3 separate regions of the Homo sapiens genome follow, and regions 1 and 3 are each linked to region 2. The links are contacts of gene promoters, found by promoter capture Hi-C in blood cells and fetal thymus (Javierre and others, 2016). All regions are on one chromosome and are shown on one strand. Each heading gives the region's core, a stretch centred on a gene start or on the middle of the fragment in contact. The rest is flanking DNA. Distances are from core to core; before and after follow the strand shown.

Region 1 (2,714 bases), core at 82-2,581, 260 kb before region 2:
CAATACAACACCCTCACAATCTTAGAAGCCTTCTGAGTGGCTCCATGTTTGAGTAACCACAGCCAATGGCCTCATGTAGACCTTATTTTTATGCTTGAACACTCTGGACTTGGTGTTCTTCCTACTCTCCTTTCTCTCAAACTGGTGGTGGCTATCTTGAGTCCATTTGAAAAAACATGCTTGGTGTGAAGGAAATTCTCTTACACTGATCTCTGTCCTCTGAGCCAGTTCCCACTGTCCAGTGAGCAGATGTCCTTGAGAAAGGCTGGGGACCACAGGAACAGCCCTGGCCAAGGCTGTCCTCCCAACTCCATTCTCCTCCACCCTCCCCATTGGCAGAGTAGGAACATTGAGGGTTGATGGAAAACACATGTAATAAACTCAGACAGAAATTCACCAGTCTGTTGTTGAGTGTCCACTCCAGGGCCAGGGCTGGGATGGAAGAGGCTGGAAGGAGGAGAGAAAGGGAGGGGCAGAGAGAGGAAAGCCGGAGCAGCTGGGTCAGCATTCCCAATCCGGACATTGACTCAGGCTCCGGGAATGCCAAGGAAGAGGGTGGCAGCTACTGGAGCCAGGCTGGGATCCTGTTGGCACCAGGGATGTAGGCACAGCACTCACAGAGGGTTGGGGGCTGGGACACCTGCACACCCAGGCATATCTCCCAACCACAGGTGGAAACAGATGTCTCTTCCCCTGCGGGGAGCTCTGAGTGCTCCCCACGCCTTCGAGGTGATTCTCACAGCTCTTCACCTGCCTGAAACACCCACTCCATCTCCTTCACCTGAGAGAGGGACACACTCCAGGGACTCAAATCTGGACATCTGGACATACACTAGCTGCTCTCCTGGACTACCCACAAACCCCTTGCCTCATCTCCAGCCTCTGAGCTGGCTGCAACTTGCCCTTTCTAACTCCAGCACCACCCTCTACTGAAATTAGAACAAGGAAGAAAGTTATGCTGATCTGCCTCCATGTTCCCTTCTTTGGTGCCTGATAAAGATGAGGGAGGCTCTTGGAATAGGGGCTCAGGACTCTGAGAGCCCAACTCTGCTCAATGACCATGTTCCCACATGCTCCAAGCCACATCCCCTCAAAAAGGGTCCCTCTAGCTTGTCCTCAGTGACCCAGGAGGCAGCTGAGGACCAAGTACCCAGATTATCCGGTGCGCCCCTTCCCTCCCAGCAACCCCCAGCCTTCAGGGCTGTAGCAGCTGAGCAAATGGGGGCCCCTCCCTCTCATTGCCTGACACCCAATCAGAGAGAAACCGATCCTGGCAGGGCAGGGTGCCCGGGGCCGGGCCCAGAATAGTGCAGCCCAGCCACAGTGTCGCACACTTGCTCTCAGTTGGTCTGGGGCTGGCCACATGGAGCCCGGGCTGGAGCACGCACTGCGCAGGGTATGGGGGTCCCAGGGGAGCCGGAGCCGGGGCAGCTGAGGCCAGAAGATTGAGCGCACGGGCTGTGAATGTGTGTGTGGGCGTGTGTGTCTTCTGGTGTGTGTTTGGTCTGGATTTTCTCGTGAATATGGGCATGTGCATGTTTGGGCATATGTATTGTGAGTGTGTGTGGTTCTGTGTGCCTGGGAGTGTTTGGATGTGTGTGTTTCTGTGTGTGTTTGTGTATGGCTGCATGTCTGTGTATGGCGTGTGTCTGAGCGTGTGTATTGGTGTGCATGGGTGTGTAGGCGTGTGTTCAGGGAGAAGGGGTTTGGGAATGTAAGGCACTTTCCCCACTCCTTCAGAAACTCTTCTCCCCACAGACCCCTTCCTGGAGCAGCCTTGGGGGTTCTGAGCATCAAGGTAGGGAGAATGCCCCCTCCCTGGGGCCTAACCTCTTCCCCCACCTCCTTGTCCCCCACTTTTCTGGGACCCCAATTCCCTCCCAGCCTGGCTTTTATCTTCCTCCTTTTGGTCTTTCTTCCTCATTGTTCTTCCTCCTTTCCCCAGGTGTGTTTCCCTCACCTCCAATTTCCTCTTTTCAGAAGTGACTTTCCCACTTACTTGCTGTGTGATTTGCAGCAAATTGCTTAACCTCTCTGAATTTCTGGTCCCTCACTAGCAAAATAGGGATGATAATAATGCCTGCTTTATAAGGCTGCTGTAAGTTTTAAATGAGAAATATGTTGGAGAAAAGCCCATTGGAAGCTTGCAAATCCTAAAGATTATGAATAACATTTGAATTGATTTTGATGCATTACTCCCTATTAACCAAACAGGCCCCATTCCCCTTCCAGAGATGAGCTTCCTAGAGCAAGAAAACAGCAGCTCATGGCCATCACCAGCTGTGACCAGCAGCTCAGAAAGAATCCGTGGGAAACGGAGGGCCAAAGCCTTGAGATGGACAAGGCAGAAGTCGGTGGAGGAAGGGGAGCCACCAGGTCAGGGGGAAGGTGAGGCCAAGGCCAGTTCTGGGGAGGTGGGAGCCAGGGGAGTGGGAAATCCCAGAGGAGCCTGGGTCTGGTCTCTACCTCAGGTCCCTCCATAACACAGAGTTGGACCCAACCTTCATCTTGTGGCCTCAGTCTCCCTACATAGTAGAGAACAAGGCACTGCAGTGCCAGAGGCCAGCATGGCCAACTCAGAAAGATGGGACAGAGCCACTACCTGGGGCGACTCTCAGGTCAGCCCCTCACCTGCAAATAGGGCCACAGCATCCAGGCTTCCCACTGCTGCTGTGAGATGAATGGCGACAGCAGATGAGAACGTGCTTTGGAAG
Region 2 (3,045 bases), core at 390-2,889:
TAATTACACGGGGATCAGGGCTGTAAAGGGTACTCTACTAAAGTTAGAGGCTGCGGAACTAATTTGAAGAGGATAGTCAGGGAAGGCCACTCTGAGACCGATTTAGGCAGAGACCTGAAGAAAGATGGATTTGGATAAACAGTTTAAGGAGAGGAAGGAGAGTTCAAGGAAGAGGTACCAATTACACTCATGCTGTGTATGTAAAGGAGGAGGGATAAGAAGAACATTCACTCCAGGCATAGAGACCACAAAGTGCATCTTGGAGAAAAATAAGCGCGTTGCAGAGGGTTAGGTGGCCAGAGTAGCTGAAGCTTTAGGAGCAAGAGACATAAAACGAGATTATAAACGTGGGTTAAGTACCACATCATACAGGGCCGTGCAGGCTATGGCAAGGAGTCTAGATTTTATTTAAATGCCAAGAGAAGTAGGATTACTTCGGATAGCTGAATTACACTATCTTTCTTTTTTGTTAAAAGATCACGCGGGTAAAACGAGATGTGTCGAGGAAAAGTTTTAAATGCAGAGAACCTAAGTCAGATGCAAAAATTATGCACTTTTCCGGGCCTCAGGTTTTCCATAAATAAAGCAAGTGGTTTGAACTAGAAGCCATTTCCTTCCCGCTGCGACGTGGTGAGTTCTAAGAGCAGGGGCCGCGTCAGATTGACCATGGAATTCCCCTCATCGACGCCGGCGCCCAGAACACAACTGGCGCCCTGAAACTGTTGGTCAGCGCAATAAATCAATGAATGGCCTGCTACGGGCGTGGGACCAGGCCCCGGCGCCCGCAAAGAACGCGATGGGTCGCGCTGAAGGCCGCGAGAGGCGTCCGGCAAGGAAATAGGGGCCGGCTCCACCACAACCAAAGCGTGCCGAGGAGGGGAACCGGGGCCTTGGAGATTGAGGGCAGAAAAAAATCAGACTAGGGACCCGACACCGGGAATTAGGAGAGAAGGCCGAAACGTGGGTCTGAGAAAGGATTCTGGTTCCAAGCCTGGGGGCCCAGCCACTCACCGCAGCCGTCGCCAGGCTGTGCATGTTGTGAGCGGCCGCCGCTCTCTTCCACAGCCGGACGCGTCCGACCCGCGTCCCCCCTTCAGCACCCCTGCAGCGGAAAACAATGAGCCGCCGTAGCCGCCATCCGACTCCGGCTCGCTCCGCCCACTTCGCGGCCCTCTGACCTCTCACCCCTGACCCCACCCACACATCCTCTTCCCGCCTCCAGGGCCTAGTTAACAGTCCCAGAGTATGTCCTTTGCCCCTTAAGATTTAGGACCGGAAGGACGTCCGCGACCACTAGTCCCCGCAACTTCTGGCTTTGAGCAGTTATTTCCAGAGAGCGGCGTGAACTCTGACCCTCCTCCAAAAGCCAGTGAACGGCGGGAAAAGATGGACAGTCCCGGCAAGACAACTATTGCGCATGCCCGACTGGGTTGCGTAGGAGGGAAATGGTGGGGGGGCGTCGAAATCGGGTGAGGTGGAAAGTGCGCGTGCCTACTACAGTCACGGCAGGGGCGGGGCTGCCCGGGCTAGGCCGCTCTAGGTACTGGCGGGGCGGGGCGAGGGCGTGTGAGGGGCGGAGTTTTCGACTGACGCGCACGCGCCTGTCTGGTCGCGTCGAGTGTGCGTGCGTGCGTGCGTGTTTGCGTGTGGTCACAGTTCCCGCCATCAGCCGCTCTCCCTGACTAGGGGTAGCTAGCGGCCTCCCTCCTTTGGGTTCGGTATCCCTACTTCCATTACCCTCGGCTCCTCCCACTCCTCGCGGGCTCCGTGCTTTCCGCGGGTCTGTCCGGGGGCTCCGGACCCTCGGCGCAGGTAAGGCGGGCCGGGGTAGCTTCTCAATTGAGCCGTTTTCCCTACCTCCTCCTCCTTCTGTGCGATCCGCCCACTCGGCGTTCACTCCTCTGGAGTTCGCCCTGCTGCTACTCAGCCCGCCCACAACCCCTCGATGCACCCCCAGCCTCACAGGTACTACCTTTGGGTGCACTGCCCCGGCTTCCACCTCTCCTTTGACTTGGTCTCCACTGCCACTCGCTCCCTCCGAAACTCAAACCTGGCCCCTTTTCTCTGGGGCTGTTGTCGTTCGCCTCTTACCTTCTAACAGGGCCTGCTGTCTCTTCAGGTGACTTTCGTTACGGCACATCCACCAGGCCTTGGACATGATACTCATTCACTCTCTTGACCATCTTCACCTTCCTCTTGACCAGTCCTCACTGCAAAACATGAATTGTATTTTTGTTGTGCATTTCCTTGCGCCCATTTCTAGCCGCCAGATCAGGTTGTTAGATGTAACTATTTTAAGTCATGATCCATGAAAGGAAATGATGATTGATGATAAAATCCTGTGTCCTGAAGAGTTGTCCTAAAGTGGTTTTGGGGTATTCCTCTCAAAATTTCAGCTCTGTATAAATTCCTTTATTGAGGTGGCAATTCCTGACAAGTGTCTAACTGGAAGAGATACCTGAGAGGGAATGTCAAGTAGGCAGTTGGATATAGTGGGTTTGGAGATCTTAGGAGAGTTCTGGGCTGCGTACGTAAATGTGCGCGGTGTGTGTATGTGTTTGTCATCTGCCATATTGATAGTAATTGAAGCCATGGATGTGGATGAAATTGCCGAAAAAGAGTATAGTGCTGTAAAATAAAGGCACCTAGGATGGAGCATTGACGAATTCCTGCTGTTTAATAACCAATAGAGGAGGATGCGTCTTGCAAGCCATGAAAAAAGTCATCAGTAGTGTTGCATTCTGCTGAAAGGTAAAATGGAAGGAGGACTGAAAAACCCAGTGATATAAAAGTACTCACTTGTCTTAAAGATGTTTGATGAAGTAAAATGAGTATTTGGGTTCAGTCCTAGGTCCTCTTCTTTTACTCTTATATTCCTCCCTAAGCTTTAAATTTGATCTATATATTGATGACTTAAAAATTGTTATTTCCAGCCTATTCCCTTTGTTTTCAGCTCCACATCTAGATAGCCAGCTGTCTGCTTGACATCTCAACTTGATTTTTTTCTTAGGAGTTTCAGATGCAACACAGCCAAATCCAAAGCCT
Region 3 (2,977 bases), core at 5-2,504, 260 kb after region 2:
TGTATTTTTAATAAAAACAGGTTTCATCATGTTGGCCAGGCTGGTCTTGGCCACCACACCCGGCTGTGAAACCCCATTTCTACGAAAAATATGACAATTAGCTGAACGTGGTAGTGGGTGCCTGTAGTCCCAGCTACTTGGGAGGCCGTGGTGGGAGGATCTCTTATTTTATTTTATTTTTATTTAAATAGAGACAGGGTCTCACTATGTTGCCCAGGCTGATCTTGAATGATCTCTTGATCCTGGAGGTCAAGATTGCAGTGAGACATGACTGCGCCACTGTACTCTGTCTCAGAAAGAGGAAGGAAGGAAGGAAGGAGAAAGAGAGAAAGAGAGAGAGAAAGAGAGAAAAAGAGAAAGGAAGGAAAGAAGTGGAGGAGGCTGGGCACGGTGGCTCACTCCTGTAATCCCAGCACTTTGGGAGGTTGAGGCAGGCAGATCCCCTCAGGTCAGGAGTTTGAGACCAGCCTGGCCAACATGGTGAAACCCTGTCTACTAAAAATACAAAAATTAGCTGAGGGGTGGTGGCAGCTCCTGTAATCCCAGCTACTCAGGTGGCTGAGGCAGGAGAATCGCTTGAACCCGGGAGGTGGAGGTTGCGGTGAGCCGAGATTATGCTATTGCACTCCAGCCTGGGTGATAGAGCAATACTCGTCTAAAAAAAAAAAAGAAAGAAAGAAAGTAGTGGAGAAAAAAATAGGACACAAAACTGGGTAAATTTTGAATAACTGATACGATTGTACCTCTGTAAACAAAAATGGATTAAAAAAAATCTAAGGCTGGGCACGGTGGCTCGTGCCTGTAATCCCAGCACTTTGGGAGGCTGAGGCGGGCAGATCACAAGCTTAGGAGTTTGAGAACAGCCTGGCCAATATGGTGAAACCCCGTCTCTACTAAAAATACAAAAATTAGTTGGGTGTAGTGGCGGGTGCCTGAATCATCCCAGCTACTCAGGAGGCTGAGGCAGGAAAACCACTTGAATCTGAGAGGCAGAGGTTACAGTGAGCCGAGATGGCACCACTGCACATCTGAGTGATGTGCAGTGAGACTCTGTCTCAAAAAAAAAAAAAAAAAATCTAAAATGCTTCCAGTCATAATCTTTGGTTGATTGACTCATGGGGTACCATTTGTTTATTATTTTTTTGTGCTTTTAAAATATTTTCTGATCTTCTATAATGAAAACATATTAGTATTTTAATTTTTAAAATTATTATTTTATTAAAACAAAGAAAGTAGTCCTCTCTGCTGTCTCTACCTTTCACTTCACGTCCATTCTCAGGCCACTCAACTGGGCCCCTGCCTGTACTGCTCCATCCTAATTTGGCGCTGTCCCCTTGAAGGTCAAACCCATTTGTCATTGTTCAGCCCTTATCACTGAACCTCTGGGTGGCAGCTATGACAATGGAGCATGCCTTTTTCCTCTGCCTTCCCTGCCACAGTCTCTCTGGCTCTCCTCTCCCCTCTCTGACAAGCTCCCCTTCTGCTAGCTCTAAATTCACCACTTACAGGCTACCACCTGTATACTCATTACTTCAAAGGAGAAATGTCCACAAGAGCCTCCCTTGGATGCCCCACGGTAGGGGTCCCCAACCGCTTCCCTCCAACCCTATACTGGTCCTTGGTCTGTTAGGAGCCAGGCCACACAGCAGGACAGGCAAAGCTTTACCTGTATTTACAGCTGCTCCACATTGCTTGCATTACCCTCTGAGCTCCACCTCCTGTCAGATCAGCAGCAGCATTAGATTCTCATAGGAGCTCGCACCCTATTGTGAACTGCGCATGTGAGGGATGTAGGTTACATGCTCCTTATGAGAATCTAATGCCTGATGATCTGTCACTGTCTCCCATCAATCCCAGATGGGACCATCCAGCTGCTGGAAAACAAGCTCAGGGTTCCCATTGATTGTACCTTATGGTGAGTTGTATGATTATTTTATTATATATTACAATGTAATAATAATAGAAATCTAGTGCACAATAAATGTAATGCGCTTGAATCATCCCGAACCCCCCTAACCCCATTGCCTCCCCCAGTCCCTGGAAAAACTGCCTTCCATGAAACTGGTCCCTGGTGCCAAAAATGCTGGGGACTGCTGCCACACGGGATCTTTAACTTGATTTGTCCAAAGCTACCTCCTCATCCTCATGTGACCCCAACCCTCTCCTTCAGGTCTGCCAACTTGGCCAACGGCATCATCTGTGTTTCCAGATGATTTTGCCCAACTGTAAACGAATGTCATTGTTTTGTGCATGTTTAAGGCAGGCTAGGCTAGGCTATGATGTTTGGTAGGTTTAGGTGTATTTAATGCATTTTCCACTTAGGATATTTTCAATTTAGGATGAGTTTATTGGGATGTAACCACTCTATAAGTTAGGAAGCATCTGTGTTTGTCAGATGACCAAACAAACCAATCCCGACACCTAGCTCCTGGGTGAGGGCATCTCTTAGGCCTAGGTAATGACTTGCACACTTCATTGCACACATGTCTCTGTGATGGTCCTTAGGCTGTGCAGTAATTCCTGGCGCTGCCCCATAACACTTCAAGTGCCTTGTGGGTAAGGAGGGTGAACTGTCGGGGAGGGAGTGGAATCGGGTTTGGGGGTTGTGTGCTAGACTTGGAATGACCAGCTTAGAACCCTGGCTCCACTAGGAACTCTGCACCTTGGGGCAATGTTCTTAATCTACTCAAACCTCATTCTCTTTCTCTCCACGAGGGACTGGTAATTTGCATGGAGCTACTCGGAGGATTAACCGTGATTACCCAGAGAAAGGACACCTTGCCTGGGCCGTTTCAAGTACTCCACACATGTTCCTTGATATTATTGATCTCATTCTTGCAACATCAGCATCTGTCCTGGTGGGTGCTCAAGTAAATATTTTATGACTGAAATGATAAGAGGGTGTGACCTTTGCCTCCATTTCCCATTGCATCATCCCAAATCAGGCCCTTGGGTCCTCATGCCTGGCCCATTGCAG

What was found. Contacts are between HindIII fragments. The CHiCAGO score rates a contact against its expected background, and 5 or more counts as called.
Region 1: the fragment with the promoter of PRKAG3 here is called in contact with the fragment with the promoter of USP37 in region 2 in 1 of 17 cell types (M0 macrophages); the score reaches 5.1 in M0 macrophages.
Region 3: a contact is called between a fragment that was not itself captured here and the fragment with the promoter of USP37 in region 2, in 5 of 17 cell types (fetal thymus, total B cells, total CD8 T cells and 2 more). The highest score is 6.2, in fetal thymus.

The regions. Positions count from the first base shown.
Region 1 is chr2:218,830,420-218,833,133 of GRCh38, reverse strand. It overlaps PRKAG3 (protein kinase AMP-activated non-catalytic subunit gamma 3), which reads left to right and starts at 1,331. Exons shown (of 14, transcript NM_017431.4): 1 at 1,331-1,396; 2 at 1,759-1,798; 3 at 2,233-2,388. The coding sequence starts at 1,364. The HindIII fragment of the contact is 3,600 bases long and covers 1-2,145 here.
Region 2 is chr2:218,566,945-218,569,989 of GRCh38, reverse strand. It overlaps USP37 (ubiquitin specific peptidase 37), which reads left to right and starts at 1,639. Exons shown (of 26, transcript NM_020935.3): 1 at 1,639-1,812. It overlaps CNOT9 (CCR4-NOT transcription complex subunit 9), which reads right to left and starts at 1,151. Exons shown (of 8, transcript NM_005444.3): 1 at 1,012-1,151. The coding sequence starts at 1,035. RefSeq lists enhancers at 557-746, 541-1,168, 1,169-1,796 and silencers at 1,457-1,516, 1,607-1,676. The HindIII fragment of the contact is 2,574 bases long and covers 314-2,887 here.
Region 3 is chr2:218,306,287-218,309,263 of GRCh38, reverse strand. All of the region lies in intron 2 of PNKD (PNKD metallo-beta-lactamase domain containing), which reads right to left. It overlaps LOC105373881 (a long non-coding RNA gene), which reads left to right. Exons shown (of 3, transcript XR_923914.3): 3 at 2,716-2,894. Among named protein-coding and RNA genes, the nearest start is that of TMBIM1, 15 kb to the right of the region's middle. The HindIII fragment of the contact is 816 bases long and covers 847-1,662 here.